Linked DNA regions of Homo sapiens: region 1 is linked to region 2. The links are contacts of gene promoters, found by promoter capture Hi-C in blood cells and fetal thymus (Javierre and others, 2016). All regions are on one chromosome and are shown on one strand. Each heading gives the region's core, a stretch centred on a gene start or on the middle of the fragment in contact. The rest is flanking DNA. Distances are from core to core; before and after follow the strand shown.

Region 1 (2,700 bases), core at 47-2,546, 1.6 Mb before region 2:
AACCTCTGAAAGCTATGATTTCTTTACCTGTAAATGGGGATAATAACAGTGCCACCATGTACAGTCGTGTAAATATTAAATGAGATAATCCATATTTAAAGTACTTAGCTTAGTGCCTGGAATCAGTAAAGCACTCAGTAGTATATTTTCATGTGCTGCAAGATGTAGTTTGTTTCCCATCATGGGTGTCTCCCTAGGTTCTTGTCTCTCCTCTTTTTCTAACTTGTCTGCTATAGGAAAGAGGGATCCCTGTGCTAGAATGCCACAGAAGCATACAGGAAAATTCCAAAAGAGAGAAACACTTTGTGGGATGAAGGATTGTAGAATACCCATGTAGCTGAGAGATATTCAGATATAAATGGCAATTAAAATCACGTAAGTTGAGCGCCTCTTAAGGAAAGACTCCCACAGTTAACAGGTTAGTACTGCTAGAATGATGAAAAAAAAAAAGTTGGGTGAAACTGAGCAACAAATTAAAAGAGAAGACACATAGGAGTATTTGGGTCAAGGTTTAGAGATCCTAAAGGAGATTATCAGGGCATCAAAGAAACATCAAAATTTAATCAGGAGGAAGCTAATTGGTTAATTTAACTCAGAAGTGGTAAGAAAATGAGTCAGTTAGAAGGGATTAAGGCCGGGTGCAGTGGCTCACACCTGTAATCCCAACACTTTCGGAAGCCAAGGTGGGGGATCAGGAGTTCCAGACCAGCCTGGCCAACATGGTAAAACCCTGTCTCTACCTAAAATACCAAAATTAGCTGGGCATGCTGGCGTGGGCCTGTAGTCCCAGCTATTTCGGAGGCTGAGGCAGAAGAATTGATTGAACCGGGGAGGCGGAGGTTGCAGCGAGCTGAGAGGTTGCACCACTGCACTCCAGCCTGGGCAACAGAGCAAGACTCTGGCTCAAAAAAAATAAATAAAGAAAGAAGGGATTAAGGAGGGAGATGAGAGAGAAGAAATAGAGGCAGCAGAAACAATAATCAAAGTCTAATAGTAACCAGAGAAAGGCATGTAGAACAAAATGAAAGTTAACATTTTAGAATTAGAAAAACAAGCCAACACTGAAAACACTATTAGGGAGGCAGAAATTAAAGATGTCAGATAAGGTATGGGAGAAGAAAGTGGGCTAGTGAATCAACTGTGTACGTCTTCATCTTTCAATGTCTCTTGCAGATGAAATCAAGGTAATTAGAATATCCAGGGTAATCTTGAAAGGGGAGAGAAATGCCCAAAAAGATTTCCTGAAGAGTATATATTTAGAAGTGGCAGAGTCCACCTCTTTGACCTGATTCTACTGGCAAGTGGGAGTGAAAGGGCTGTCTTATTTCATATGATTGGAACTAACAATTGTTTGGTTAATTGAAAAAGCCAGTTAAAGCAGAGAATCATAGAATATGATACATAACATAAACTTTTAAACTTAAATCTGTACGTTCATTACCAACTTTTACAAAATCAAGGCCTTTTCTTTGACTATGCGTCCCCAGATTGGCATTCAACTGCAGGTTTCTTATATCCCCATAAACTGTGGTTTTGCTTAAAGCGGAGTGGGAACTTAGATATTTGCAAAGCGATCTGCATGCAAAACCTTATTGATTTTTATGATTTTCCCCTGAAACTTTTATAATTGTCTTATTCCAACCTAACTTGACAGTAGATGTTTTTAAGCATTTACCTTTATTAAGTTTCTCCAAAACATTCAATCTAGTTTTATGAGATATATCCATGGACCTTTTTTTTTTTTTAAAGCTCATCAGCTACTGTTAGTGTTAGTGTATTTTATGCATGGCCCAAGACAATTCTTCCAGTGTGGCCCAGGGAAGCCAAAAGATCAGACACTTCTGATCTAAATAGTAGTTAAGTATTAATGGTGATATGTGAAGAACTGTGGATAAATCATGAATCTTGGGACACTGCGTATTGGGGAGGGTATGGAAAGAGGAGGGGTGGGGTAGAGAGTACTCCTGATAGCTCATTTCCTCAGTAAAGTTGAACAGATCAGGCCGGGTGTGGTGGCTTACGCCTGTAATACCAGCACTTTGGTAGGCTGAGGTGGGCGGATCACGAGGTCAAGAGATTGACACCATCTGGCCAACATGGTGAAACCCCATCTCTACTAAAAATACAAAAATTAGCCAGGCGTGGTGATGCGCAACTGTAGTCCCAGCCACTTGGGAGGCTGAGGCAGGAGAATCACTTGAACCTGGGAGGCGGAGATTGCAGTGAGCCAAGATCCCGCCACTGCACTCCAGCCTGGTGACAGAGTGAGACTCTGTCTCAAAAAAACAACAAAAAAAAGAAAGTTGAACAGATCATTTTAACCTTGTTTTGTTTGCTTCATCTCTTGGGGGTTCTAGGGTCTGTTGGGATGGTATATGGTGAAAAGTGGACTAGAAGAAAAATCAGACTCCCATGACATCCCTCGGGTCAGTCAGTACCGCCTTGCTGCCCACCTGGGATCAGCCCTGGTTCTTTATTGTGCCAGCTTGTGGACCTCACTGTCACTGCTACTCCCTCCGCACAAGGTAAGAGTTGTGTGCAAATATCTGTGTTCAAGACCCCGCTTTTGGTTCTTTTGGATATATATCTAGAAGTAGAATTGCTGGATCATATAGGAGTTGAATATTTTGCCAACATTTTCTATTGGCAAAGGTGAAACAAATTGAAAAATAGAGTGGGAGGGAGTACCAACAACAAGAA
Region 2 (2,700 bases), core at 38-2,537:
TGTCAAAAAAAATTAAACAGATGGGATATTTGGCTATTTATATTCTGAATTTCAACTGTGACACAAGACACAAGACCTGCTGGGGACAGGTATTAGTTGTAGTACAACCATATCTGAGGAACGTTTACTGCTTTATGCTTGTACCTGTGTGATACTGAAGGAAGGTTATAACAGCAAGAGATAGTTGTGTGTGCTGAGGAAGAAGAGTCTAAATTCTGGTGGGCCTTAAAATCCAGATGAAGTTTTAAATTGACTCCACAGGTGGTAACGCCCTAAGGTCACCTCTTCACTAGGAACCTGGCATAAAAACATCTGTATGGTTCAGATTCGTTTCCAAAGACACTTTCCCCCTATTTATTAACTAATTTGATCTTCGTATAGACATGAACCTGGTTTTAAAACTCAACTGACCTAGACTGGAGACTGGGGGATGGCAAGGTTATACCCGAAACATACTTTAGAGTTCAAAGCTTTCGCAGGAATATCACTTCTGCTGAAGCCCACAACCCTGGAAGGCCGCAGGGCAAAGAACATTAACCCCACTTTTCAGACAACGAAACCGAGGCTGCGCTAAACAGACTACTGTACAAAAGATCACAGGTCCAGCCAAGTGGCGGACTGAGACTTCCCCCAGGATATCAGACTCCAAATCCTGTGCTCCTTCCCGTACACAACTGAGAGGGGGCTGCACTCACAAACTTTAAAGATCGGACTTGGGGTTTTTCGCAGGCCTGCCAAGAAAAAGCAGGAAGTACATGCTCCTTTATAGATTGCTCACTCCCAGCCCGTAGCCCGGGGCTCCCGGGCAGCGGAGGAGGCTCAAAGGCGAGGCTCGAAGCGAAGCCCGGAAACCGCCGGCAGCCCTGGGGGCCCACGGCCCCGCAGCCCCGAGGGGGTAACCAGGGACCCCGCTCAATACCTGTTGAAACCCAGAAAAAGCACGTCCTTTCCGCCAGGATCATTTGGGGCGAGCGCCCAAAGCGAGCACGAGCCCCAGTGAGTGCAAAAGAGCCCCGGGAGGGTCCCTCTCAACCGCGGGCCCGCAGGGGTCAGAAGGCGGGAGCTTCCCAGTAACCTCCGCCCCAGGCAGGGGGCGGCCCCTCGCGTCACATGAGGAAAAAAAATACCAGCAACAAACGACGGAATGGAAGTCTTGTCCCGGGCTGTGAAGGGAGAAGTGGGGATTAAAAATCCTAGCTTGAGGTACAGAGGGAGGGGATACGGGGCTGGTTGTTACCGGCGCGCTGTTGCTCTCCGCTTCCGCCGTCTCCGCGAAGCTCTATCTCTTCCGCTCGCGCCGCTGGGGCGCGCGTCAGGCCTCGGCTCCGCCCCCAACGCCGTGGGGCCTTCTGGGGGTTGTAGTTTCCGCGAGGCCCGGCCGCGCCCACTGAGTTCAGGTCACGTAGGGGAGAAGCTGGCAAAATGGCGAGTGCCGGAGAGCATTTCTGCTCCTGTCCCTTCAACCCTTCCTCATTCCTCTCGGCTATATACGTGCGCAAATCTCCTTACATTCCACTCAATTATACCATCTCACTTCCTCCGTTCACAGCCAAGTTTTTTGAAAAAGATAATCTACACTGTCTCTACTTGCTCATCTGTGTTCACTCCTCATCGCAGCTTCCGCCCCCATGGAAAATGCCTTGTTGTCATAAGTGTCCTTGTTGCCAAACTCATTGGAGGTATTTCCGGACTCATCTAACTCAAGCTTTAGTCATTTGACGCTATTGGGCATTATCACTTATTTTCTATGACACTATCCAGGTTTTCCTTCTCTGAATTCATTCTACTTTGTTTCCTCTAACTTACCTCTAAAATATTGGTGTTTTCCAGAGTTCTTAAAATTGGGGTGGGAGAGGGGACACTCCAGTCCCTTCTCACCTGAGCTCATTGTTTGTATTCCCAACTTCCTAGACAAGACCTCTCCTCATCCATGCCCACAGGCATCTCCAGTGTCCTTGAAAAGTGAACTACTGGGGCCAGGAACAGTGGCTCATGCCTGTAATCCCAGCACTTTGGGAGGCCAAGGCAGGTGGATCACCTGCGGTCAGGAGTTCGAGACCAGCCTGACCAACATGGTGAAACCCTGTCTCTACTAAAAGTACAGAAATTAGCTGTGCGTGGTGGTGGGCACCTGTAATCCCAGCTACCCAGGAGGCCGAGGCAGGAGAATTGCTTGAAGGAGAATCGCTTGAACCCGGGAGGCGGAGGTTGCAGTAAGCCAAAATTGCACCACTGCACTCCAGCCTGGGCAACACAGGGAGACTCCGTCCCCCAAAAAAAGAAAAGTAAACTACTACCCCTCCTCCCTACTCATTAATATTCACTCTTTAACCTGATTCCTCCTTTCTCACTTCCTCTTCCTCCAATATTCAAATGGTCACCAAATCTTGGAGATTCTATTGTAGCAGGACGAGCCGCAGACAAAACCTCTCAGACACCAAGTTGTAGAACGAAGGGCTTTATTCAGCTGGGAGCATCGGCAAGCTACTGTCCTAAAATCCAAGCTCCCCGAGTGCACAATTTCTGTCCCTTTTAAGGGCTCACCACACTAAAGATTTCACATGAAAGGGTCGTGATTGATTGAGCAATCTGGGGTGTATGTGACAGGGGCTTCATGCAGTGGTAGTCAGAGTGAAACAGAACAGAGTACAATGTTCTTCCATACAATGCCTGGAATCTATGCTAAGTCATGAGTTGATT

Evidence for each region. Contacts are between HindIII fragments. The CHiCAGO score rates a contact against its expected background, and 5 or more counts as called.
Region 1: a fragment that was not itself captured here is called in contact with the fragment with the promoter of R3HCC1L in region 2 in 1 of 17 cell types (total CD4 T cells); the score reaches 8.0 in total CD4 T cells.

What each region holds. Positions count from the first base shown.
Region 1 is chr10:99,723,781-99,726,480 of GRCh38, reverse strand. It overlaps COX15 (cytochrome c oxidase assembly factor COX15), which reads left to right. Exons shown (of 9, transcript NM_078470.6): 5 at 2,358-2,525. Among named protein-coding and RNA genes, the nearest start is that of COX15, 7.0 kb to the left of the region's middle. The HindIII fragment of the contact is 6,673 bases long and covers 1-2,700 here.
Region 2 is chr10:98,133,244-98,135,943 of GRCh38, reverse strand. R3HCC1L (R3H domain and coiled-coil containing 1 like) reads right to left here and starts at 1,287. Exons shown (of 10, transcript NM_001351015.2): 1 at 1,238-1,287. RefSeq lists enhancers at 589-728, 71-860. The HindIII fragment of the contact is 1,235 bases long and covers 473-1,707 here.